7 separate regions of the Homo sapiens genome follow, and all the other regions are linked to region 1. Evidence: promoter capture Hi-C in 16 types of primary human blood cells and fetal thymus (Javierre and others, 2016). All regions are on one chromosome and are shown on one strand. The core of a region is centred on a gene start or on the middle of the fragment in contact, and the rest is flanking DNA. Distances in the headings are between cores, read along the strand shown.

Evidence for each region. Contacts are between HindIII fragments. The CHiCAGO score rates a contact against its expected background, and 5 or more counts as called.
Region 2: a fragment that was not itself captured here is called in contact with the fragment with the promoter of MAP1LC3B2 in region 1 in 1 of 17 cell types (neutrophils); the score reaches 5.2 in neutrophils.
Region 3: a fragment that was not itself captured here is called in contact with the fragment with the promoter of MAP1LC3B2 in region 1 in 1 of 17 cell types (total CD4 T cells); the score reaches 5.3 in total CD4 T cells.
Region 4: a contact is called between a fragment that was not itself captured here and the fragment with the promoter of MAP1LC3B2 in region 1, in 3 of 17 cell types (non-activated CD4 T cells, naive CD8 T cells and total CD4 T cells). The highest score is 6.8, in non-activated CD4 T cells.
Region 5: a contact is called between a fragment that was not itself captured here and the fragment with the promoter of MAP1LC3B2 in region 1, in 1 of 17 cell types (non-activated CD4 T cells). The highest score is 5.1, in non-activated CD4 T cells.
Region 6: a fragment that was not itself captured here is called in contact with the fragment with the promoter of MAP1LC3B2 in region 1 in 10 of 17 cell types (total CD4 T cells, neutrophils, naive CD8 T cells and 7 more); the score reaches 10.6 in total CD4 T cells.
Region 7: a contact is called between a fragment that was not itself captured here and the fragment with the promoter of MAP1LC3B2 in region 1, in 9 of 17 cell types (total B cells, total CD4 T cells, monocytes and 6 more). The highest score is 10.1, in total B cells.

Annotation. Positions count from the first base shown.
Region 1 is chr12:116,557,322-116,561,080 of GRCh38, reverse strand. It overlaps MAP1LC3B2 (microtubule associated protein 1 light chain 3 beta 2), which reads right to left and starts at 1,700. Exons shown (of 2, transcript NM_001085481.3): 1 at 1,648-1,700. RefSeq lists enhancers at 1,107-1,206, 1,247-1,296, 1,517-1,856, 1,696-2,205. The HindIII fragment of the contact is 18,876 bases long and covers 1-3,759 here.
Region 2 is chr12:115,949,065-115,952,823 of GRCh38, reverse strand. No RefSeq gene overlaps it. Among named protein-coding and RNA genes, the nearest start is that of LINC02463, 65 kb to the right of the region's middle. The HindIII fragment of the contact is 1,366 bases long and covers 1,437-2,802 here.
Region 3 is chr12:115,966,390-115,970,148 of GRCh38, reverse strand. MED13L (mediator complex subunit 13L) reads left to right here. Exons shown (of 31, transcript NM_015335.5): 28 at 1,052-1,209. Among named protein-coding and RNA genes, the nearest start is that of LINC02463, 82 kb to the right of the region's middle. The HindIII fragment of the contact is 4,146 bases long and covers 1-3,759 here.
Region 4 is chr12:115,983,785-115,987,543 of GRCh38, reverse strand. It overlaps MED13L (mediator complex subunit 13L), which reads left to right. Exons shown (of 31, transcript NM_015335.5): 18 at 256-435; 19 at 1,055-1,278; 20 at 3,172-3,364. Among named protein-coding and RNA genes, the nearest start is that of LINC02463, 99 kb to the right of the region's middle. The HindIII fragment of the contact is 3,827 bases long and covers 1-3,664 here.
Region 5 is chr12:116,004,496-116,008,254 of GRCh38, reverse strand. It overlaps MED13L (mediator complex subunit 13L), which reads left to right. Exons shown (of 31, transcript NM_015335.5): 11 at 619-844; 12 at 1,844-1,949; 13 at 2,262-2,386. Among named protein-coding and RNA genes, the nearest start is that of LINC02463, 120 kb to the right of the region's middle. The HindIII fragment of the contact is 5,074 bases long and covers 1-3,759 here.
Region 6 is chr12:116,021,288-116,025,046 of GRCh38, reverse strand. MED13L (mediator complex subunit 13L) reads left to right here. Exons shown (of 31, transcript NM_015335.5): 5 at 2,446-2,591. Among named protein-coding and RNA genes, the nearest start is that of MIR620, 130 kb to the left of the region's middle. The HindIII fragment of the contact is 2,361 bases long and covers 431-2,791 here.
Region 7 is chr12:116,042,318-116,046,076 of GRCh38, reverse strand. All of the region lies in intron 4 of MED13L (mediator complex subunit 13L), which reads left to right. Among named protein-coding and RNA genes, the nearest start is that of MIR620, 100 kb to the left of the region's middle. The HindIII fragment of the contact is 7,745 bases long and covers 1-3,759 here.

The DNA of each region.
Region 1 (3,759 bases), core at 451-2,950:
CAGTGGCACAATCTCAGCTCACTGCAACCTCTGCTTCCCGGATTCAAGTGATTCTTGTGTCTCAGCCTCCCAAGTAGCGGGGACTACAGGCATACACTACCATGCCCAGCTAATTTTTGTAGTTTTAGTAGAGATGGGGTTAAGCCATATTGGGCAAGCTGGTCTTGAACTCCTGGCCTCAAGTGACCTGCCCACCTTGGACTCCCAAGGTGCTGGGATTAGAGGTGTAAGCCACTATGCCCAGCCTTTTTTTTTTTTTAAACTATTTGTAGAAACAGGGTCTCCCTATGTTGCCCAAGCTGGATCTGCCTTCCTTTTATAAGGATACCTGTCATTGGATTTGAGGTCCACCCAGGTAGTCTAGGATGATTCAATCTTGAGATCCTAAAATTAATTTACACCTGCAAAGATCCTTTCTCCATTAAGGTCACATTCACAGGTGCTGCAGCACATTAGACTGTGGACATATCTTTTCTTTTTTTGGTGGAGGTGTGACTGGGGAGACACTATTAAACCCACTACAGTGTAAAAGTAGGCCAGATGTGATGGTTCACACCTGTAATCCCAAGACTTTGGGAGGCCGAGGTGGGCGGATCACTTGAGGTCAGGAGTTCGAGACCAGCCTGGCCAACATGGCGAAACCTCGTCTCTACTAAAAATACAAAAATTAGCTGGGCGTGGTGGCGCACCTGTAATCCCAGCTAGTCGGAAGGCTGAGGCAGGAGAATCACTTGAACCCAGGAGGCAGAGGTTGCAGCGAGCCGAGAGCGCGCCACTGCATTCCAGCCTGGGCGACAGAGGAAGACTCTATCTAAATATATATATATACATATACATACATATATATATATATATATATATATATATATATATATATATATATATATATATAGCCAAACTTAGCTTTATTTCAGAGCCGTTGCTGGGCCTGGGAGTGGAGAGAGATCAGGAGAGCGCCACCAGCTTGGATCGGTTAGTGAGCTGCGGTGGTTTTTGTTTTTGTTTTTTTTTTCTTGACAGTGTCTCCTATTGTTTTGTATTTCTCTTTTGTTTTGAGGTTTTCTGCCATCTTTTCTGGAAGGTGCATGATGCTCAGCTCTGTGGTTATTTTTGCCCAACAGCTGTGTTTCCGGTGAGCGGCTGTGGGATTCTTCTGACTCAGCAAAACTGGAGCAGTAACCGTCAAGAAGCCATTCAAGCAAGGCTAGAAATAAAGAAGCTGTTTCTTCACCGTCCCCTCCTCCTCCTCTCACTTCCCTCCCCATGGGTACCTTTTGAAAGTCTCACAAAGCACTTTGAAAAAACTACTTGGACCAGTATGCTGGAGGGTTGACTGAAGGTGGCCCCTCCGCTGGGCTTTAAGCAAACAGATAAATTCTGGAAAGGACTCTGCCCTGCCAGCCTGGCTGTGGCCTTCGGAAGGCCCCTCCCAACATGCCCCCACCCGCCGATCACATGGACTGTGTCTTACAAGTTTCCCACAGGTCTGACTAGTGAAAGCAGAGGCTGTGGGGACTTTTGTGGTTTTTCTAGGGTGTGGCCCCACTTTGCCTTCACCAGGCCTGAGTATCTATGCCGTGCAGCTTGCCTGCTTCTCAAAGGTCATGATTTCCACCCTGGGGCTGGGAGGCAGCTACATATTCCTACCCGCTGGCACAGGATCTGGCCCTGCACTCCCGAGAGGTGGCTGCGAGCCTTGCGGAGGCAGAGAGAGAACAAAATGGAAAGGAATCTTCCTCCCGGAGAGCCATCTTCTGTGCATGCCGGTGCCTGCAAAAGACAGGCGAGGCGAGACAGCTGCACCTCGGGCCTCGTCGCTGTTGCTGAGAAAGAAAGGAACAAATAAATTTAGCTCCATCCTACGCATCCTTTGCAGCTGCTGATTGACCAAACAGAAAGAGGCCTCTATTTCAACCCTGGCTTCTCAGCTTTTTGCCTGATGGGGTCTGCTATCGCCCTTTACAAGGGACTTTTGAAGGAGGAAACGGGCCGTGGCCTTATTTAGCGCCTGGCCGGCTGGAGGCTGCACAGACAGGAGTTCAAGTTTAGGGTGTCTCTTCTTGCCCATCCCAAAGCAAAATGGTGGCCCGGAAACGTTTCCAAATGGGCTTCGGCTCCTGGAATTTCCAATGTATTTATTTGGAAGCCAGAACATGGTGGGTGGAGAGATGTGTAACTGTGCCGAGGCCAGCCTATAGCTCCCGAAGCCATTAGTTTAATAGCACCATTTGTGGAAATAAAGAACTCGCTGACTGGGCTTGAAGGTAAAAGACTGGAACGAAGCACTGAGGGGGTTTCGTGGGGCTCACTAGCGTGGAGAGGTCCCTGCGGGATGGGGGACAAGCTGTGTGGACTTTGAGTCAGATAGACTTGGGTTCCAGTCCTAGCTCTATCACCTAAAGGCACGTTGTCTCTGGACAAAGAGAGCCTTTGCTCTGTGATATGTAAGTGAAATGCTAGCTGTGACACTGAACCTCTCTGAGCCTCAGTTCCTTATCTGTAAAACAGCAATGATGACACGAGGTCGTCACAAGGATTAAATGACAAAGAATACTGAACCTACATAGCCCAGCTCTTGCTGTGCCATGATGGTGTAGAGTGGCCCCTGTTTGACCTGCCCAGGCCCATTCTCCAAAGAAGCTGTACAGGTGAGGTGGCTCACCCCTGTAATCCCAGTACTTTGGGAGGCCGAGAAGGGAGGATCACTTGAGCCCAGGAGTTTGAGGCCAGCCTGGGCAACATAGAGAGACCCCATCTCTGCAAAAAAATAAAAAAAATTAGCTGGGTGTGGCGGTGCACGCCTGTGGTCCCAGCTACACAGGAGGCTAAGGTGGGAGGATCCCTTGAGCCCAAGAGGTCCAGGCTGCAGCCTGGGTGACAGAGCAAGACCCTGTCTCTAAAAAAAAAAAAAAAAAAAAAAAATAGAAGGTGTTTCTTCCCCAATCCTCTCCTTTCATTTCCCTCCCCGTGAGTACTATTTGGAAGTCTCACACGGCACTTTTTAAAAACCACTTTAAGTCCGGGTGCAGTGGCTCATGCCTGTAATCCCAGTACTTTGGGAGGCCAGGGTGGGTGGATTACTTGAGATCAGGAGTTCAAAACCAGCCTGGCCAACATGGTGAAGCCTCATCTCTACCAAAAATACAAAAATTAGCGGGACACGGTGGCACATGCCTGTAGTCCCAGCTACTCAGGAGGCTGAGGCAGGAGAATCGCTTGAACCCGGGAGGTGGAGGTTGCAGTGAGCCGAGATTGTACTACTGCCCTCTAGTATGGGTGGCAGAGTGAGACCCTGTCTCAAACAATAACAACACTTTAACCAGTATCCGGGAGGGCTGCTGAAGGTGGCCTCTGCTAGGCTTTACACAAGCAGATGGGTTCTGGAAAGGACTCCACCAAACCAGCCTGGCTTTGCCTTTGGAAGGCCCCTCCCAAGATGCCCCCACTCGCCACTCACATGGACTGGGACTCTGTCTTACAAGTTTCCCACTGGCCTGAGCAGAAGGTGGGAGGAATTTCTGTGGTTTTCTAGGTTGGCCACAGAATACTACTCTTCCTCCTCCCACTCTTTTTTCCGTAAGATTTGGGGCTCAACTTACTCTCAAACTCTGGAAGTGAGGAGGTGGCCCAGGCCTGATCATGGGGTCTCATATGCCCCTGGCCATAGTGATTCATTTCTGGAAACATCCCTGGGACTCAAGCTGGGACAATCAGAGTGAATTTCAGGAATGTTGGATGAATCTCTTAGGAGGGAGGAAA
Region 2 (3,759 bases), core at 870-3,369, 610 kb after region 1:
CCATTATTGTGTTAAAATTCAGCATGGCCCTTCTATAGTTTCCAGAGACAATCAGCCCTTCCCCCATGACTCCCACGTCTGTAGCTGTAGATTCAGTATCTCCATCTTCCCACAAGATGCCTCGACCTGGAAGCTCAGGGTCACTCCAGACATAGCCCTGAACCTCTTCCTTCAAACTCTTCTTCTCCTCCTGCTCATCAACCCTGAAGTCTGTGTCATCTTGAATATCTCTCTCTCTTCTCCCCTCATCCCCATGTTTTGTCATTCTCAGATTCTCCATTCTAAAAGTCATCGGATCTTCTCTGGAACCAGGCATGGGGGAACCACAAGAAATAAGGCAGGCATCATCCCTGGCCTGGGGCAGCGCATAGTCTAGTGAGAGCAGGTGCAGCCTAGTGGGGGATCTGGGATAGGGTGAAGACAGAGTGCTTACACTCTGGGAAAAGCTTTCTGGAAAAGTGGTATTTTCAGAAGCTCCGCAGAGCCAATAGGAGGCAGCTGTCAGAGGTGGGGTGTGTTCCAGGTGGAGGATACAGCATATGCAGAAACGTGAGGCCACAGGAGCCCCCTGCAGGTCAGCCCGACACGTCTGAGAGAAATGAGGACTCACGAAGGCATTTTAAGCAAGTTAATGATCAGATTGACCTTTAGAAGAACTATCATGGCTGGGGGAGGTGGTTCACACCTGTAATCCCAGCACTTTGGGAGGCCAAGGCAGGTAGATCACCTGAGGTCAGAAGTTCAAGACCAGCCTGGCCAACATGGTGAAACCTCGTGTCTACCCAAAAATACAAAAATTAGCAGGGCGTGGTGGCAGGTGCCTGTAGTCCCAGCTTCTTGGCTGAGGCACGAGAATCACTTGAACCTGAGAGGTGGAGGTTGCAGTGAGCCAAGATTGTGCCACTGCACTCCAGCCTGGGAAACAGAGTGAGAGCCTGTCTCAAAAAAAGAAAAAAGAAAGAAAGAAAAAAAAACAACTATTATGGCTATCGGAAGGGGGTAAAAATGGAAGCTAGAATAATGGTGGGCCACACCCTGGTATGGATAGTGAAGAGGGAGAGAGGGCTATTGAAAAACAATCAACAGAAAGTGGTTATTGACCAAGTAGGGTGTGCGGTTTCAGAAGTGGGTTGTGGACGCGGGAGGTTTCTGGCCTCAGCAGTTAGACAGCTGTCCTCAAAATGGCTATGGGAACAAGGCAGCCACTGGTGACCTTGCTGAGAATGATTTCAGCGGGGAGGACGGGGCAGAGGCCAGACTGCAGTGCATGCAGGAACAAAGCAGAGAGAAAGCAGGTAGCCAGAGTAGGACATGGAGGTGTCAGGGGGGCTGATTGGTTTGCTTTTTAATTTGCTGAGGCCTGGAGCACACGTCAGTGCCAGAACAGGGAAGGACGTGAGTGACAGATGGGTCCAAGGAGGAGGGACCCGGAAGCTTGATGGAGAGAGAGCCTTGGTTGATGGCTTTGTTCCTTTCCTTGTGAAGGAGGATGCCAAGGAGTGTTAAATGGAAGTGGTGGGTGGGTCTCAGGATGTGCAGTAGCCTTGGTGCAGATCAGGGATGAGAACCGAGGAGAACAATGAGCGGGCCTGAGACTATGAATTTACAGTGGTACCCACCTCTCTGCACCGTTATGAGCTTTTCCTTCTGATAAGGTTTGGCTGTGTCCCCACCCAAATCTCATCATAATCGTAGTTCCCATAATCTCCACTTGTTGTGGGAGGGATCAGGTGGAGATAATCGGAGCATGGGGGTGGTTTCCCCCATCCTGTTCTTGTGATAGTGAGTTATTTCTCACGAGATCTGATGGTTTTATAAGGGGCTTCCTCCTTCGCTGGATACCCATTCTCTGGCCTGCCGCGCTGTGAAGAGGTGCCTTCTGCCATGATTGTGAGTTTCCTGAGGCCTCCCCAGCCACGTGGAACTGTGAGTTAATTAGACCTCTCCTTTATAAATTATCCAGTCTCAGGTATTTCTTCATAGCAGCGTAAGAATGGACTAATACACCTTCCCTGCCCCAGGATGGGGATGGAGAGCGCAGTTCTCAGTCCTGCTGTTCCCTCCACACCACTATGAGGACACAGAATCAGACGCCCCGAGTGAGTGTCCTGATTGTACAGCTGGAAAAAGACCTCTTCTGGGCCTCTCCCTGTAGCTCGGAACAGTGTGTCGAGGTAGCCTCTCGGGCTTAGCTACAAGAGGGAAGATCTCACATCTTCGAGGAGGATGGCAAAAGGATCTTGCAGAGCATGAGGCCAAAGGAGAGCCTGTAGCCAAGGAAGGTGGGAGATGGCACATGGGAAAGAGCAGAGACCAATTTACCTGCTTCCAACTCCGGCTAAACCCTGTCCTTACAGAGTGCCTTTTGCCCAGAATATTCTTCAGACACCATTTAGAAACCAAGATGGAGGGTGGGGGAACTGGTTTACAGTGCCAAGCACATTCACTGCCTGCCAGATCATCTCAGGTAGGCATGGATTTGGGTTCTGTCTAGGGCCTTATAGATCCAGGACCCGAACGATTCTTGCAGGTCTCCAGTTGCCCCAGGCAGAAACAATGAAGGCATCTAGATCACGACTCCTCCATCACCAAGACCTGCCGGATACCATGTCCTATGTCCCCCCCCACAATTCCTTCCCCTCACCTCTTACCCAGATCTCAACGGTGGCCTCCTTGCATGCCATCCTGTCTGCAACCTGCCTCTTTCAATCCAATCTCCAAGCTATTACTGGTGTTAGTGAAGTCCAACTTCCTAGGCAGGGAACCCAACGAGGTTCACCATGATCTGGTCTTGAGCAAGCTTCTTAGGCTGGTCTCCCAAGGCAACACAGTGCGGGACAGGGACAGAACTAGGTCCAGCATGCTGTGACTTCCACCTGAGTTTGAGTTACTGAGAGGAGCAACAGAAATCAACAGGAGAGGGAGCTCCTCTCACAGGAGCCTTGGAAACCCTCAAGTCTTGCAGTCCTTGTTTCCGCTTCGTTGACTAAAGCTCCACTTTGCATGCGGCTCACACCTAGAAAGCCGTCTCTGCTTGAGGCACTTCTCACCCCAGTCTTGGTGCTGATAAAGCCCAAACTCTCTGGTCTTTGCTGCCTCTGCGCAGCCATCTCTAGCTTTGGGCTGGCCCCTCTGTCCCTCCCGGGACTCCCAGAGTAGCTGATGCCCCATCAGGGCACCGACAACACTGTGTTATCAGTGGACTCTTCTCCCACGGCCCCTTCCTGCCTGGTACAGAGGAGACATTCAACAGACCGAATGGTCAAGTGGAATAGCTGCATGCCCTGAACCTTGGAGAGATGAGTTCCTTCCTACCATCCTACCTGGTCGTTTTTCTGGAACCTTCTACACTTCCAAGACAAGATCTGTTTTCTCCAAGTTCCCTCCCTAACATTTCAAAAATACGTGGTTTAGAGCCAGGATGTGCTATCGATGTCCTGGCTCTGCCGTGGCTTGCTCTCCATGGGCCTTCTCTGTGTCTCTTTCCTTGCCTGTAACATGTGATGCTCACAGCACTGCCTTCACCTACTGCAGAGAGAAATGCAGTGATCCCCGCATGGATGGGACAGGCATTGAGTGTCTACTGCCTGCAGTAGACACTCAATACATGTCCGTTCTTGTTTTTTCCCAGAAGAGTTATGGAAGGCTCATTTTACCCCTTTACATATTTGGCAAATAGGCATTTGAAACGTACATGAAATGCAGTACTCGATTTTTGCCCTTTATCTACATCACCCTCTGCAGTCCTCTCTTCTTCCA
Region 3 (3,759 bases), core at 539-3,038, 590 kb after region 1:
GTATTTGTTTAAAAAAATGATTATTTATAAACTATAAAACACTCAACACAGCATCCATTTGCATTGTTTTTGAAGAAATTATAACACCTACCAGTGTTTATTTATGGTAAATGGGATGAGGAAAAGGATACCAAATTTTATATCTGGTATGATTACAATAGAATAACAAATATATGAGAAAATAAAAGAATCATAGAAAAAAATGATCATGGTGATTGGGTTCTAGGTGATGGTTTTCACTTTTTATACTTTTCTTTACAAATTTTCTGCTGTGAGTGTACCTTACTTTTATAATGTTGGGGAGGATTTCTTAATGAAAATGCTGGGCCAGGCACGGTGGCTTATGCCTGTAATCCTAGCACTTTGGGAGGCTGAGGCAGGCGGATCCCTTGAGGTCAGGAATTTGAGACTAGCCTGGCCAACGTGGTGAAACCCCATCTCTATGAAAAATACAAAAATTAGCCAGAAATCACTTGAACCCAGGAGGCAGAGGTTGCAGTGAGCCGAGATCGTGCCACTGCACTCCAGCCTGGGCAACAGAGGGAGACTCCATCTCAAAAAAAAAAAAAGAGAGAAAACATTGTGCTTTGATTTGCTTTTGGAATAGGTCTCCATTTTCAGGGCAAGTTCACACTCATTAACATGCATTCATTCAGCCTCTGGTGTTTTAGATGCTAAGTGGATACATAGATGGAGTCTACTGTGTTTTTGAATGGTGTCAATTTTAATGATTAAATTGTTGCTTTAGCTCTTTTACCATACTTTTATGTGTCTTTGGAGGCTATGCAGAGTGTAGGTTTTTATGTTATATTCTTTATTGCATTCTGTTAATACTGTACATAAGGAGATCATTGGAGAGAGTACAAAATGAAAGAATAATTTGTAATAGCTTGCACTCAGTAGGTCCTAACTGAATCTAAGTTATTAACAGTGTGTGTCCATAATAGCCATATGCCAACAAAACATGACATAGGTTAGGTTGGATTATTATGATATTGATATGTGGACTATCTTTTTAATTTTTGTGCTTTTTTTCCCCCCTTCCCTCTAGATGATATGTTTGTTGACCTTCCATTCCCAGATGATATGGACAATGATATTGGCATATTAATGACTGGGAACCTCCATTCCTCTCCCAACTCTTCCCCAGTACCCTCCCCAGGCTCTCCTTCTGGAATTGGTGTGGGCTCTCACTTCCAGCATAGTCGGGTAAGGATGATTTGGAGTACGTTGTTTAAGACAACCATAGCCTTTAGGAAGATAATCCACTGGACATCTGATCATCTTGTTCCTACTTGCACAGTTCTTGATGGTCTGGGTCCTTGGTACAAGAGAAATAAGTGTGGGAAACTGACTATGGTTCCATTTTGAATAGAAGGCAGGAATTTGAAATAAATATGTTATTATTTCTGATGAATAAGTTTTATCAGAAGAATAGTCCTATTACAGATGCAAGGGTTTTTAATGCATTGTTTTCTTAGCAAAAATTAGTTCTAGTTGCTTGCTGCTTCCCAGTTTTTTAATGGTTTTATTTTTTGCCAAAATAGTGGCTTTTAAGAGATTAGTACAACAACCGTACTTACTCAACATGCAGAGTAATTGTGCTGATTGAAGAACACGTTGGTGATGGCTTGTTCTGAAAGGAGCCTGCCGTGCTCTTTGCGTGTCCTGGCTTAGTCATTTTGCAGCCTTCTTCTTTCTAGCCGACCTGCAGGAATGGCAAGAGCCGCCAGGAGATTGATTTTACAGATGTGTCCAGGTTAACGCCAGAGTATTAAGGAAAAAACCAGAGCTTACAACTGGTTTCATCTTTAAATATCTCAGGGATATTGGAGGTGGATGAACAACAGAAGATTTAAGAGTTAGAGGGTTCTGCCACAGCTTGTGGTAACTTTGCTTCAGTTAGATGATTCCTGCTGCATCACTGTATTGTACTGTTTATTTAAAATGTTATGAGACTGGGGAGTTAAGACTTTGAAAAATAGCTATGTCTGGTATCTTAGACTGAACAAGCATAAGCAGCCTGCTCACACTCATTTATTTAGACACAAAGATGGACATAAAGGACTTCAGTTTTCATCGGGGGGGGGGGGGGACTTTTATTCCCAGCACTGAATTTATTAGACGCTGGAGAGAAAAAAGGTTTATAGCTTAGATTAGTCACAGAGCAGGTAAGACCAGAGGAGGGCATCTCAGACTGTTCCCATGTTATACCTGCCCCTATTACCCTCTTCTGGAAGGAAGGGGTTTTAAGGGTCTTTGTTTCCTTTGCAGTACTTACCAGTTAATGATAATTTGTTCATGGGAAACGGTTGTGATAGGAACGAAAAACACAAATGTTACATTGTCTATTTTTTTAAAGTTGGGTTTAATTTGAATTCTGGAGGCAAGTAGCATAGCAGCTAAGAATGCATGCCCCACAGTCTGTTAAAGACAACTTTGAATTGCAGCTCTGGGCCTACGGGCTTTGTGACCTTGGACAAGCTAACTTCACCTCTCTTAGCCTGAGTTACCTTATCTGTGAAATGGAATAATAGCAACTACCTCCCAGTACCTGTTTTTGTAATTCAGTTTATGCATTAACAAAGAATTGGTTATTGAAGTTGTAATGTTAGTTGTGTAAGAAACAGAGGTATGCTGTATTTCTCCCTTTTTTTGGAGCCTTAAGCACTAAAGTCTTTAATTCAATGCCATGATTTAGACAGTGCTGTTCTGAAGCTAGCCAGGTGGCCTTTTTCAATCCTGAGCACCTGCAGCCAGGTGACCTCCAAGAGGCTTTCAGCATTTCCTTTTTCTGAACCATTAAACATTCTTTGATATCCAGTTAAGACATTACAGCAGGGAAGAGAATGCGTTCAAAGTGGCAGTAAATTTTTTATTTTTTTAACCAACTCAGAATTGATACAGTTTGATGTAGTAGCTGCAGATTATTTTTTCCTTCCAAACAGAAGGTTTTTTTTTTTTTTTTTTTTTTTTTTGAGACAGAGTCTCACTCTGTTGCTCAAGCTAGAGTGCAGTGGCATGATCTTGGCTCACTGCAACCTTTGCCTCCTGGGTTCAAGGGATTCTCCTGCCTCAGCCTCCTGAGTAGCTGGGATTACAGGCGTGCACTACTGTGCCTGGCTAATTTTTGTATTTTTAGTAGAGTGGGGTTTCACCATGTTCGCCAGGCAGGTCTCGAAATTCTGACCTCAAGTGATCTGTCCGCCTCAGCCTCACAAAGTGCTGGGATTACAGGTGTGAGCCACCGCACCCAGCATAAACAGAGACTTTTAAAAACAAATGCATTACTTATTGCTTGCATGAAAGGTACATTTTCAATTGATGAAGCTAGCTAAAAGAATTAAAAGATAAGAAAAGTGTCAGTTGCAGCAAAACATAGCCTCTTCCAGGAGTCTCTTATTAAGGGGAATGCTGCAAATGAAAACATGGCTTCTCTGTGAGCAGATCTTGCACTACTGGCAGCTCAGGAACTTTTGTGCTGTGCACATACTGGTGTCACATTGTCCTGGTCAGGCTGGTGCGCTTGTGTGTCTTTGGCTGGTTGCTGGTGAAAGAGCACCTGCGTGTGGTAGAGCCTTCTGCTGTCAGAGATTGTAATCTTTCCATTTTAGTTTGTTACATCATAATGCCATGAAATAGATCTTACATCCCTTAGAAAAGAAACCCAAGCAAATAAATCTGTACTTACTTGACTGAGGCTGTCAGTTTTGCTGGTATCTTCTCTATGTGTGCAGCAAAGACGATGCTGGCCCCGCT
Region 4 (3,759 bases), core at 502-3,001, 570 kb after region 1:
ACAATTCTTCCATTAAACTTTTTTATATAGAGTAATCCATTTCCCCTTTTATTATTGTTGATACTAAATTATCAATTATTTTCTCTAATTTAGTAGAAGAATATCTTTCCTCCTGACTCCTAAGTCAAATATTTTAGAATCTACTACAGCTAATAACGTCATTGTTCTGAATATAACTGAGGCTCGAGGTGATGGTGAGGAAGAGGAGGGTGCTAGCCCCCTTATCTTCTCTGTTTCTTCTCACTTCTCTTCCAGTGCTGGACATCAGCATGCTCTCCTCCCAGGATGTGGTTCGTATGCTGTTGTCCCTGCAGCCCTTTCTCCAAGATGCCATCCAAAAGAAGCGCACGGGCAGGACCTGGGAGAACATCCAGCATGTGCAGGGACCACTCACTTGGCAGCAGTTCCATAAAATGGCAGGACGGGGAACCTACGGTAGGGTCTTTGTCCTGTTTAAAATTCCTTCTGACTTCAGTGCTGTTCAGTGAAGAGCAGCGTTAGTTACTGTCAAGTCCTTGCGTCACTAACAAAATAGGGGAGTCTTTTTCTTTGACCATTTAGTTTTATAATCTCTTTGTTTTCCTAAAGTTACTTTTGGAGTCAAGTTTCCTACCACCCTTGGCATAATCCAGGTCAGTGAGGAAGCTAATCCCTAAAAAGTGCATTTTTTAGATTCTCCTCATTTTCCCAATCCTCACTGCATTTTCATCTGGATGGACTTCTGGGCCAGTTCTGTCTACTTCATCATAGTCAGAATCATAATGCTTATCTTGAAGGAAATGATGTAGTGCTGCTTGGAAAGTTAATTTTAACTTGTTCTAGTCTGCCCTCTGATCTTACTGAACCTTTATAAACAAATTCTGACTTACTTAATTAAGAGTCCTCATCAGTGACCATTTAATTAGATGATTTCAAAAATACTTTTAAGAATGTCTTGTGAACATGGAGTGACATTTCAGATGCCAGAATTAAGACCAGTGCACCAGGAATTTCAAAATTGTAAGGTTGTGGGAAAAACTCTCTAGCACCTTTCTACACTACAATGTCATTTTAGGTTCGGAAGAATCTCCTGAGCCGTTGCCCATCCCCACTCTGCTGGTAGGCTATGACAAGGATTTCCTCACCATCTCGCCATTCTCCTTGCCGTTTTGGGAGAGGCTCTTGTTGGACCCATATGGGGGCCACCGTGATGTTGCCTATATTGTGGTGTGTCCAGAAAATGAGGCCTTGCTCGAAGGAGCCAAAACTTTCTTCAGGGACTTGAGTGCTGTATACGAGGTGAGGAAGTTACTGTGAAAATTGCTTTTTATGACTTGGATCCTCTGATTGTTTATAGTGATGACTAAATTTCAAGACAAATGTCTTGAAAGTAAATCTCAGAGAAAATTTGCAAACAGGTGGATGAAGAAGAGAATTGAATTGGCCAATTTTTCTGGAAGCAAATTGCTTTCCCATCTTTGCTTTATATTTGTTAGATTTAGAAAACGTTCCCCTCCCATTCTTACCACACGTCTTAAAATCCCATCAGTTCTCTCTTCTCCATTTATGTGCTAAAAGTTGAAGAATATTGCTCACCAGGGGAAAGTGTGGCTATGTAGAAGATGAGCTTTACCAAAAGAGCACATCTACTCTTTGTATTTATTTACTGGATGGATTGAGGGACAGGGTGAGTAGGTGAGAGTTCCTGACAACAGTGTAAAAATGTGTCTTTTGCAAATTTCTGAATTGAAACATAAGTTTAATGAATAATGTCCCTGTTGTGTTTTAACATGACATCTTAATACTGAAACTTTGATACTGATTAAAAATATAATTCCTATAATAATGTAAAAACCAGGCAGATAATTTTACATCTTTAGTATATGAATTCCTGTTGCTTTAAAAAAAATAGAATCATGTCTGTCTTTGAAGAATAAGTGCCACATTTCTTATGCCAAAGTATATATGCACTAAGTTCTTTGTATCTGATACATCTAATGTCTTTGTATTCAGCAAAATGAAATTAATATCTGTAAAATATTTAGTACTATGATAGGCATGTAAACATTATGAAAGTGGTTTTTAAATAAGATTCCAAGCTGAATTGCAAAATATTCCAAAACAGGACATTCATGATCTATAAATGTATGAGTAGGCACGGAATAGTAAATTTACGTTGTTGCTACAAAGAAATGAGGAGATGCTAACATGATGTAATGACATCAATTAAGTCACTGCCTTGGATACATTCATTTCTGAACAGTGTCTGGTCAGGGCATATATAATACTATTAAATCATAATTAACAGAAAATTTGTGTAAGCAGTTTTAAAGCCCAGCCATTTCCTTGAATGGAACCTTCAACATAAGTTACAAAATGTAAAAAGCACTGCCAGATCTTTTTAAGAGGGTACAGACAGACACTCTTTTAAATTTTTCTTAATGACTTCACTAGGGTTGCTTATTCGGCAGTAATTGATACCTCCTTAGGAAGAGTATACACTAGAGGATTTTGTCGGGGCTTAGTAAGCCTTCACTTCATCTACTCTAGTAAGGGATAATAATACGGGCTCTCCTGCTGGTGAACAGGTAGTTTACTTTTTGCAGGTTTATTATATTCCCTGCCATAAGCACCCATTTAGCGTCATGGAGATTAATAGCAGAATCTCCTTGTCCTATTTACTTTAAAAAAAAAAAAGGCGATCAGCATACTCACTGCTTCAGTGGCCCCTGCTATTGGTGATCTCCAAATGTCTGTAACAGAACAGATGGCCCATAAAATTTTAATGTTATCTTATGGGAAAATATTATGAGTAGGGATTACTTAGGAGATTTTAGTGGGCATATGTCTCAGTTAGCAACAGTAGGCAGGAATCTGCTAATTCTTTGTCCGTTAGCAATCAGGTAGTGTTCAGCAGCCTCCTCTTGTACAGGAGGAATTGGCTTGAGTGAAGAAACATTTTTTTTTTTAGAGAGCCTAGTCCAAGTTTTAGAGAGACAGATAGCAATTTAAGGGTACATTACAATTACCTGAAAGGACCAACTTGTAATGTTGGTTTGATTGCATGTGATAACCCTAAAAGAAAAAGGAAAATGCTTCCATATGTATGTTAAAGAATCTCCCTTGCTAACCATTGGTACTGAATGAAGGAATGGCTCCTGTTATAACTAATGATCTTGTCTATGATATCAGATGTGTAGGCTTGGGCAGCACAAGCCCATCTGCAAAGTGCTACGTGACGGGATCATGCGCGTGGGAAAAACTGTGGCACAGAAGCTGACAGATGAGCTTGTGAGTGAGTGGTTTAACCAGCCTTGGAGCGGCGAGGAGAATGACAATCATTCCAGACTCAAACTTTATGCGCAAGTTTGCCGCCATCACCTAGGTAAATGGGAATTTATTTGGCAAAGTAGAATTGGAGAAGTAAAATAGCAAATCCGTCCCATCCCTTCTTTTATAGATGCAACATTATATTTCTTTTGTCTCAAGTAATGCTGTATTTGTTAAGGTCCAGTTTGGTGTTCTGGGCAGTTTAATGCTAATTTCTATATGGACATATATTTTTTAAAAACTATTCAAAGTTGCCTAATCATGTCTAATTACTGCACATTTTGAAAACTTAGCAGCATGACTTGGTATTAGCTGCTTAGTTTTAACCCATATTCTGAAGAGAATCTTAGAAGCTTGTAAACCTAGGAGCATAATGTCCCATGATGACTGTGGAATATATAGCTTCTCATTTTTTAGGGCAGGCACATGGAATCAGTCTGAAAGGAGACT
Region 5 (3,759 bases), core at 419-2,918, 550 kb after region 1:
CAAATGCTTTGTCCTACTTATAGGTTAGCACACATGTCATTTGACACATGGGCATATAAAGAACTCTTTATGCCATTTAAGTACACTCCAAATATATTAATACATTTTTGCCCTACTGTTTGTTAATTAAAGAATATAGCTTTATAAGACTTTCCATACTGCTGTCAGTGCCTTCTTTGTATGTTGACATTTTTGAGGAAGGCTTTGCCTGCATTCAGGTGTATGTATCATGTATCTAGTATAATATTTATAGCTCTTTTGAGCCACCCATTCTAAAACTTTACATAGATGATCTCATTTAATCTTCACTGTACCATATTATTACGTTAATTTTATAACTGAGAAACTAGGGCCATGCAGTTAGTAAATGACACAGATGGAATTTGAAACTAGGCAGTCTGTCCTGAGAACCTGTGCTCTTAAGTGGAATTGATGGACCCAGAGACAAAAACATATATTCTTGACAAAGTATGCTAATTTTTATTTAATCATGAATATAAACTGTAAAAGCAAATCACTATATCGGTGAATTTTTAGTTGTTTTTACAAAAAGTTTAAACTTTGTAAATGCTTTAAGGCATAAATGCTCTTTTTTTTTTTTTTTTTTTTGTCTTTTAGACTCTTAGCACAACCTAACAAACGGTTTAAAATCTGGCAAGACAAACAGCCCCAGTTGCAGCCACTCCACTTCCTTGACCCATTGCCTCTATCACAACAACCTGGAGACAGTTTGGGAGAAGTGAATGACCCATATACCTTTGAAGATGGTGACATAAAATACATCTTTACAGCCAACAAGAAATGCAAACAAGGGACGGAGAAAGATTCCCTGAAAAAGAATAAGGTACCATTTAACAGAGAGAGAGTCCAGCATGGTGTGGGTTTCTATCTATGTCAGTACAACATGTGTGGGAAGACTTTGGAGGCAGAACGTTTGAGATAGTCTTGCCTGATTGCTCTGTCCCCATATTCATGCTCTTGGTACTATTGTATTGAACAGCGTATTGTTCCTTTTTATGTCATGGCTCACCTTTGTTTAAAAGTCAGCCGAACATAAATGAAGCCTCATATTTTCCAGGCTATAGCTTGTACAGTGCATGTTTTCTCTCATATGCTAATTCTTGTTGGCCTATGCTCCCTATTTCTTTTAAAATATTATTCCGAACTACCCAAAATGTAAAGGAAAAAATGTTTGTAACAGTAGGTATACACAATTTATCGAGCGCTTCTTATCCTTACTGTGCTGAGCGCTGTACCTATATATTCTCTGGGTTAATATCAACTCTACCCATAGACTATCAGTATTAATTTTACTGGTTTCATCATCATAAAAATGAGTACTGGTTGTGTCTGCTGTCTTTAATTTCAAATTTTCAGACATTCTAAAATATGGGCCATTGAAATAGGTATTCTTGAGAATCAAGGAAATAAAACAATTATAAGAGGCCGGTATAGTTAGGGGAATGCTTTTTAGATTGTTTTATACAGATCTCCCTAGACCCAGAAAGCCAAATCTATAATTTAGCATCTAAAATGTTGTTAAAGGCAGCTTTTAACACCATGGCAGGTCTGTAATCAAATGCCACCAGTACTGCTTAGGCATAAAACACTGATTCACTCAGAATACCCCATAGGATTGAGGGGAAAGTGGGGAGCTCATGGTTCTGTTGAAATTCCAGAGAAAGGACCTATCTTTTACTTCCTTTGGTTGCATAGACCATGGTTTATCATACTTGTGCTCATAACAAGTTCCATTCTACCCTCTAATTCTTTGTGTTCTCCCTCATATTTCACACTTTGGGTTGGTGTTCATGTGTTTTGTTTGGCTGAATTTATTATACAGTCAGAGGATGGATTTGGTACCAAGGATGTCACTACACCAGGTCATTCCACGCCGGTGCCTGATGGGAAAAATGCCATGTCTATTTTCAGTTCTGCTACTAAAACAGGTGTGTACAATGATTATTTGCCTCACTTGGATTGTTGCTAAAATGAAATGCAAAGGAGATGCTTCTCAATGTAAAATTTTATTCTTATTGTAATAAGAATTTCATCTCATCTTTAATATATTTTTCATAGTTTGTTTTTCAGTTCCTTTCAAAACTGATAAACATATTTGGAAATAATTGTCTCTAAATTTAACTAAAACCATAGGGAAAAACTCACAGGCAGGTCATGTTCATTGAGATCCGTGTCCTCTCCCTACTCCTTTGCGCTTGGTGGAGTTGTTTATTCTGTGTCTTTTGCCTCCTTTCCTACAGATGTCCGGCAGGATAATGCTGCTGGCAGAGCTGGCTCCAGTAGCCTTACACAGGTAACAGATTTGGCACCTTCCCTGCATGACTTAGACAACATCTTTGATAATTCTGATGACGACGAACTTGGGGTGAGTTTGCCGTAGCTACATAAACAAAAATTTCGCTACATGAAAGGACTTTATATCAGTGTTGTAGTATTTCTTTATAGTTTGGTGTCCTGAATTTGGGGGCTCTTATTTCAGGTTCTGAATGTTCTTTATAAATGTCTGTATACTGGAATCTAGTCATGCTGTATAAAAAAAGTTTGTATACTTGGAAAAGATTGTAAAGGTTATTAGTGTAGTGTATCCACCTCGAGTTTTGTTCATTGAAGGATCTTTTTCATTAGTGTATTCCAGTTGTACATATTAAAATCTCTCACATTTATTGTAATAAATTCTTCTAAATATCACAGGACTACTAGAAATGTATTACATTGTCCCTTAGGTTTGATTTTTAAAGTAATGCCCACATAACTTTTTATTCATCTAATAAGTCAGAGGTTAGGTATGCAAATATGATTTATACTTTTTAAGATCATGGCATCATTGTAGGGGAATAGAATTTATATACATAGAAGTTAAATACTACAAGGCAGCATACAATTAAAATGACAGAGAAGAATAATTATTATAATTCTTTGGAGATCAGCAGAACTAAGAGTCAGGAAATGTGTGTCCTCATCCTCCTAACCAACTCTGTACCTTTGGGCAAATACAAGTGCCTGTTTTTTCTGGGAGATCTAGAGATGAGTAAGATAGGCTCTGTTTTCAAAAAGGTCAGCTTATTAGTTTACTTTTCTTTCATTCATTCACTTATCTACCTCCCTATTCATCTGTTTTACATACATTTGTTAATTGTTTGAAGGTTAATTCCTTTGTGGTGGTACTAAGGCTAGTCATTGAGGTTAGAAATATGATTAAATTACCACCCTTATACTTGAGACACTCACAGACATAAGGAGAAATGGCACATAAAGTTATAATGTACTTATTGCTGTGAGTACAATAATAGACCTGAATCTAAAGTTGCTGGACATTCAGATACGACGTGACCAAGTGATGGGGAGCAGTGTTTAAGTTAAGGCTTGAAAGTTAAGTAGGAAACATTTCTAAAGCCCAAACTTTAAAATAAAATGTATCTAACAGATATTATATACCATTACTGTTATAAGTACTTAGAAGATGAGGAGATCATAATGGTCTGGAAGAATGGATTGTACTTGAAATATGGAAAGAAGGGGTCATTGAGAGGAAGGGGGAGGGACATTAGTTTAAGTGTGGAATGAGCCTTGATTAAACAACAAAAACGAACTAGATTAGCTTTCAGGGATAAGGAACAGACCATTGGTCTGTTTTTTTGGATGATTAGAGACTGATAGGTCTAGGAAAGTTTTGGATTTTAAACTGTACTAATATGTGTTCCTCTGAGGGCTGCTGAGTATAGAACTGAACTGGCAGAA
Region 6 (3,759 bases), core at 362-2,861, 540 kb after region 1:
TTCAAAGTATACTGTAAAGCTGTAGTGACCAAAATAGCATGACACTGGCATAAAAACAGACACGTAAATCAATGGAACAGAATAGAGAACCCAGAAATAAATTCTCTTATCAACAGACACTTGATTTAAAAGAAGGTGCCAAGAGCACATACTAGAGGAAAGAATAGTGTCTTCAAAAAATGATGCTGGGAAAATTGGATTTCTACATGCAGAGGAATGACACTAGACCCCTATTTCTCAATTTAAAAACAAGATCACCTCCCCCCCCCCCCCGCCCCGCCAAAAAAAAGCATGAAACTACTAGAAGAAACCATAGGAGAAATCCTTCTTCACATTCATTGATCTGGGCAAGGATTTTAAAAATAAAACTTCAAAGGTCCAGGTAATAAAAACAAAAATAGAAAATGGGGTTATATCAAAGTAAAAAGCTTCTGCACAGCAAAGGAACTGACCAACAGAGTGAAAGGGTAACCCACAGAATAGGAGAAAATATTTGCAAACTATATATCTGACAGGGGATTAATATCTGGAATATCTAAGGAACTCAAGTCAGTAGCAGAAACCAACCAGATTTAAAAGCTGGGCAAAATACCTGAATGGACGTTTCTCAAATTTTCATTTGTTCTTTTCTTCTTAAAGCATTTGTTTGTATATTCTAAATTGAAGAAATCACTACTGGTTAGCCTTTCTATGGCATTTTGTTATTATTTGTATGTTTGTGCCTGGCTTTATTTTATTCATGTGTTTTCATATCAGTCTCTTGCTAGTGAATATGCTCCTTGAGGGCAAGGACTGTGTTTTCTTCAGTGTCACTTCAGGCTCCTTGCACCATTCTTAGATAAATGTTGGTTGTATTTGTTCTGATGCACAGTTGGGACTCGGTGGAATAGAGAACATGTTCTATGGCTGTAGTCTACATTTATTTCTCCCACCAGCTTCTTATAAATAAGCTAGTAACTACATGGGATACTGGGCATGAATAGGGATAAGTCAGCTCAAACTCCCTTAGCTGAAATTTACAGCTGAAAAATAAGCCAATCCACAATCAGTAAAACTATATTTTGGTCCTATTTAATGTGCCAGACATAATGTTGTATGTAGAAGATGGTGTGTTTCTAGTGTCATTTTCATAAAGGACAGAGTATTTTTACTGTTTATATTATTTTATACCTATAGATGTTCAAATTATGTGCATTTTTGCTTTTGTGAACTTAGAAGTATGGTATCAAGGGTTTTTAAAACTTTTTTTCAAAATTCTTTTAAAATTGTAGTCACTATCTTGAATTTACTCTGTCATGTTAAATACCCAGATACCAAGACTGGGTGTTTCCTACTGGTGAAATGTCATATTTTGGTAAAACAAAAAATGTTATCTAAACATACTGGTCAAAGGAGAATATATATGTGTCACTATGTGATAGAGAAACATTTTAATTTTATTTCATGTTTTCCTTTCAAGCATTATGATTTTGCACTTGAAACAACATTTTTTTTTTGAGTAGTACTCCAAATGTACTTTATAATACTTTAGAGAAGTTTTGAAAAGAAGCAGCATCTTTGAGATGACTTTTAAAAATTGTGGTTGCTTGGCTTTATTTAGTAAAAGTGATTTTGTTTCATCAGGAAAATGTTCTTACGAGATGTTTTGAGAAATGGAGATGTGTTATGGCTATCTTAGGGCCAAAGTTACAATTTTGAAAAAATGTGCTGAGGGGTTGCCTTCTGATCTTGTTCGTAAGCCACTTTTTTTGAGACAGGGGTCTTGCTCTGTTGTCCATGGTGGAGTGCAGTGGCTTGATCACAGTTCACTGCAACCTCGAACCCTTGGGCTCAAGCGATCCTCTCACCTCAGCCTCCTCAGGAGCTAGGACTACAGGTGCACACCACCGTGCCTGGCTAATTCATTTATTTATTTTTGGTGGAGATGAGGTCTTATGTTGCCCAGGCTGGTTTTGAATTCTGGCCTCAAGTTATCCTCCTGCCTCAGCCTCTCAAAACGTTGGAGTTACAGGTGTGAGCTGTTATGCTGGGTCAGTGGGCCACTTTAAAAAATAAGTCTTTTAAGTGTTTATTCATTTATTTGACTTAACACGTTTTGAGTGCTTGTCTTGTGCTAGACACTGAGACAATAGAAAACTATTCCAATTCCTTCTCTGTTCTTAGGTGTTTATAGTTGGCATAAGAGTTAGATTTTATGCAAATGAAACTGGAAACATTTTGTACAGTAACTTACAAAAGTTCTCAATGCAGTATATTCGTATTTCCAGATTTATCTGATGGCTTAGTTTGTCAATACTGAATTAGAAGTTTCTCTTTTGCCCACAATTAGAAGTCAGCCTTACTGGACGGTTGATAAAGTAGAGCTGTATCTTACCTGTAGTTCCTGTTTCTAGCACCCTTTCCTACCAAAATATAAAGTTGAGTTTCTCATTCTCTCTTTTGTAGTGAGCATTTGTCCTGTGCTTTCACATTCTTTCTGCATGGAGAAAGTAATGTATGCACAAGTGTGGAGATTGCCCAGCACCAGCCAATTTATTTGATCAATGAGGAGCATATACACATGGCTCAGTCTTCACCTGCACCATTTCAAGGTAAGTATGGGTGTTCCTGCTCTCCACCCCTATCCGCCACCGAGTGGATAACCATCTTGCCCAGTAAAGTTTTGCAGGGTGAGACCTTATCTTAAATGGACATTTTAAAGCTAAGCATAAGGGTCAGATTTTGAAGAAGGAAGAAAAGACTACCATTTCATAATTAAGTAGTAATAGTGTGTTAGTTTTTCGCTGAAGCTTATCGCATATATAAGATGGTCTTATGTGTATTCTTTTGTAAGAATAAAATGTAGAATTTCCTTCAGAACAAAAGAAAATCAATAAATACTTGAAAAATAGAATTCAATGAGTAATTGACCAAAGTCACAAATTAAAGGTTTTCATTGTTGTGTTTATTAACAAGGTTTTAGGAATGTAATGGTTTATAGAAGATAAACCAAATACTTAGTATTTGAAATTTCTATCAGAATCAAAGTTCTAGAATTATACAGTGTATAGTTTCTTCAGCGATGTTCCTAACTTTGTTTTAATTTTAAACTCCATTGGTAATAGGTATTTAGCTGTAATTTAAATGTAATTGATACATTCATATTTTCATTAATTCTCAGCTTTACCACCTATATATCACCAAAATAACTTCATGTCCTTTTGATCTGAGCATTACAAATCTTAGTTTTGTCTTTGGAATTCAGAATTTTCTGTGAGTAACAGCTTTTAAATGTTATAATATTAGATTGAACCGTATGGAAACAATCTTTTTTTGGTTCAGTCTAATATGTCATTATTAGAGATGACTGGTTGAAATAGTCTTAGCATATCACACAATATAATTTTAAAAAACACTGATATTTTAACAGACTTGACTAAAATATTATAATTGCTGTAAAAGCCTGTCATGAGCATTTAGCCTCCATTGTATTTATTTTTTGTTTTCTATAAACTATTCTGATTTAATTCAATGAAAGCATCTGTTTCTTGCCCCAAATATAATAAAACTACTAGAAAATTCAAAACCCAATTCTTAAACTGTACAGTACAAATTGTACAGTATTTGCAAATTATGGCTTATCAGAATTTTTAAAATACTGTTTTCTTGAGTGTAAAAGTGCTGAGGACCATCTGACTCCATCCAACATTTTATCACTCAGAATAAAAGCATTTAGTTATGGTAATAACAGAGGAATAAGTAGTCATGAGGGAAGAGAAC
Region 7 (3,759 bases), core at 777-3,276, 520 kb after region 1:
CTGCATTTTAATATTGGCTTTATAAATAAAATGCTAAGCCTGCTTTTTCTTTTTTAAGCATGTCTTTCTCCAGAGTTGATTTTATATATTGACTTAGAAATGTCACTTCATGCATGTAATTTTTATTGATTACCTACTACTTTATTAGGTAGTTGGTAATAAAAGAAATACTTTATTATAGAAATATATATATATTTATCTACCTAAAATATGTCTTGTTATTGGTGATTTTGAAAGGCTGGTTAAACATTTTTTGTGACTTAATAATTTTTATTGCATTAATATTTTTCTTTTCCCATTTTACTTGTAACCTGTCTAAAGATGGCTGCTGATACAATAGCAACTCTGAACTGGATCCCGTTTGGTAATCCTAATGTTTATGATGTTATTTACTTGAAAATTTGTTATGTTAATGTTGGTCAAATTATGTTAAATATGAGGTTTATAGCAGAGCATTTTTCACCACATATATACTATTACCAGATACGCTGTGACTCATATTTTATGTCATACCATAGTTTTCAGTACAGACTGTCCATAGATTAAATAATTAGTTACAAGTCCACAGGGGCTAGTAAAGGAAGAGCTCCTACCAAATCAGAGGCAGTTAAGAAGCACCAAAGACCCCCATCTAGAAGCCGAGTACAGCCTCTGCTAGCAAGAGGATGGGAGGGAATTTTTCAGAGCAGCTCAGACAGGAGCTGAGCATGAGAGAAGGGCAGTTTGTGGATGTGCTGAGGCTTTCATTTGTTGTCTCAGCCAGGGGGACTCAGTACTATGTAGGCCCAGGATTGGGATGACCAGATTAAAAGCAGAGAAGAGAAAGGAAAGGAACACCAGTGTTCAAAAGGATTTTAGGCATTTTATTATCGTTTTGAACATTATTCTATACTGAATCCAGAAAGAACATGTAATATTTTCCATCTTTGGATTTACTGCCTGAGAAAGTCACTAAAATATAACGGTGCATTTTACCCAAACAAATAAATAGAGAAGGAGGGGCCCCCTCTTTTCCTTGCATTTAACTCCTTGGATTTATGTGTGTTTTGTAGTTATCTGTAGGGTCTCTTACTATACCCTTTTTTGCATATACAGTTTGCATACCATTTGACAGACATAACTAGACAGAGGAGTATGAATGGATCCACCCAAATTTACCAAGCCACCATGAAAATGACACAAGACTCATCCTGTTGACAGTAGCTTGTTAGCTGATACAACTTCATATTCTAGGGATGAGATGATTTTTGATGATGAGCTTTGGTTCACTTGTTTAATCTTGATTAGTGGTGTTCTGTTCTATTCTGAGGCTTAAAAAAGAAACAGAAGACTTGGGTTCTTTCCAGATGTTTCTTTGATGTGACTTTTCCGGGGATTAGTGAGGATGACAATATTTTTCTACCTGATGATTATTTGCGGGTCATAGTTGTCTACCAGATTCTCAAATGTTGTCTCAGCTCACATGCTCAGAGAAATATTCCTTCAGTGAGATAATCTAGCCAGGCTTTTGAATCTGTCTTTAGATGCTGTTGTGTGTTCTTAGGAGTTAGGATTTCCACCTATAGTATGGCCTCTTTTTTCACTCTTCTTCCCACTAGTATCACAGAGCTGGTCTTAAACTTTGACCATTTGATTTCTCTGTGTTGGTGTGAAGTGAACACAGAGCTAACATTCACTTGCGCTTTCTTTCGTGTGGAGTTGTTTGAACTGGCAGAGCTCCTGAGTCAGCAATACATTCGGGTTATGCCAAGATACAGACTTCACTTTTCTCAGTGCTGAATCTACATAGAAACTTAATTGGTTAATTTTTTTGAAAACACTTACTTATGGAACATTTGAAAAGTGCTTAAGTTGGCTTTGAAATTTCTGAAACTAAATCCTGCATTTGTAATCCATGGGGTGGGCACTAGAATACCAAGTTGATTTATTCTTGTGATTAAGATCCAGGAACAAAAAAGAGGACCTCCTTCTCTTGCTGTTGGTTAAAATAGAGCTAGCATATAGTACAATGGCGTTATTCTTGGTCACATGAACTCTTAATGCTTTCTTGACACATTTGTTTAGAGAAAATATTCTTAAAACATGGACATCTGCTTTATATGCAGTGGTAAGAATCTTTAGACTACACATGAATATTACATTGAATTAACCCTATTAATTAGGCTTCTGAGTTGTTCTAGGAAAAGGACTCAGCTTTGTGGCAAAGTGCCAAACATATGCCAGTTTGAATAAAATACATGCCTTTCTATTACTTTTCCCCTTCCCCACTGTTTGAGCATCATCAAGTCATTTGCTTTAGGTTGGGATGGAGAAGAATCTGCCAGTGCGTAGGGGTATGGATTGAGCTGAGTGGCTTTATTCCTGGATATCTATTTATACATAGTCAAGATAAATAGATACATGCATGCACACATACTATGAAAAGCCAGATGAAGAGTATACTCTTGGTTCCCAGTTTAACTTGCCTGCTTTTATTAAGAAAAATGTGACACATGTACTGATTATCCTAACATGTTTTAGAGCATGTTTTACTTTTTGTATTAGATTTCTCTGATAATGCATTTCTTTTTCTGTTACTAAACATGATTAATGTACCACATAGTGTTAACTGTGCTCTTTCCCCCAAAGACATCAAATGGGAGGCAGCATGTAGAAGCTAAATTATTCGGAGAGGAGTCAGTGATTGATTTAAATATAAAAGGATTAATTGGTCCCTGAACCAGACTATTAAACTGTACTGTGATCTTGACTGAAAGTGGAAGAATTACAAGTGCATTGCATAGAATAAATTAATACATTTTTCGTGGCTTTAATCCTTTTTTTTCTGTATTGCTTATTGTGGTTTTATGTACTGTACTCTATTGTATGCATAATTGATGCAGAAGGGATTCAGAGTATCATGATTAAATGGGAGAGGGGGATAGAACCATTCCTGAGGTTTAAGGTGGTACAGTTCTTCTTCCAGGATAGCTGAATGTATCTCCACAGAATGAATATTTCTTGGAATTCTTACCAGTGATGACCCCAGGCACAGAAAGAAGTTAAATGTTACTGAATAAAAAAATTAAAAGTTTACGTTCTGTGAGGGCTTTGTTTAACATGAACATCGGCTAACAGTGGGTAAATATAGCCCTTTATCCTTGAAAGAATTGAACTGAGACTTCAGCTCTTGAGGGTAAACAGTGTAATGGCACCATACCCAGATAAAATTTCCTTCTTTTTATAATTATTTCTATTCAAACAATACTGATTTTTCTCATTCCACCTCATAGGCTAATACTTCAGTCAGACAGGATGCTGGGTTTTTTTTTACGCTATCAGCCTCATCTGTCCTTTCCAGGGAGAAGAAATGTGTGTTTATTCACCTCTGTTATATTGCTGCTTTTATAAACAAAATGTAAATCATGTAAGTTCTGCTTTCAAATAGTACTCCTGGTAATAAAAAAGCAGAAAAGTTTGATTCAGGGGGCTGATTTAAGAATTCATGTATATGTGGCTTTACTAGTAATATAAATTTCAAGTTTTAGAATGGTATCTTCAAGATATTTCTCTCTACCTTGTCTCACCACATCTCATCTTTCCCTTATAATTTGATGTGCCTTGCCTTCCATTATTCTATCTGCTTCTGAGTAATCAGCCTGTATGGGATATTTTAAAACAGGCACAGCTTATCTGAGAATCAAGATACAGAATCATCAGAATCATAGGACTGAAGGTGCCATTAAAGGCATCCTGCCCCTCATCCCTTCCAACACTCAA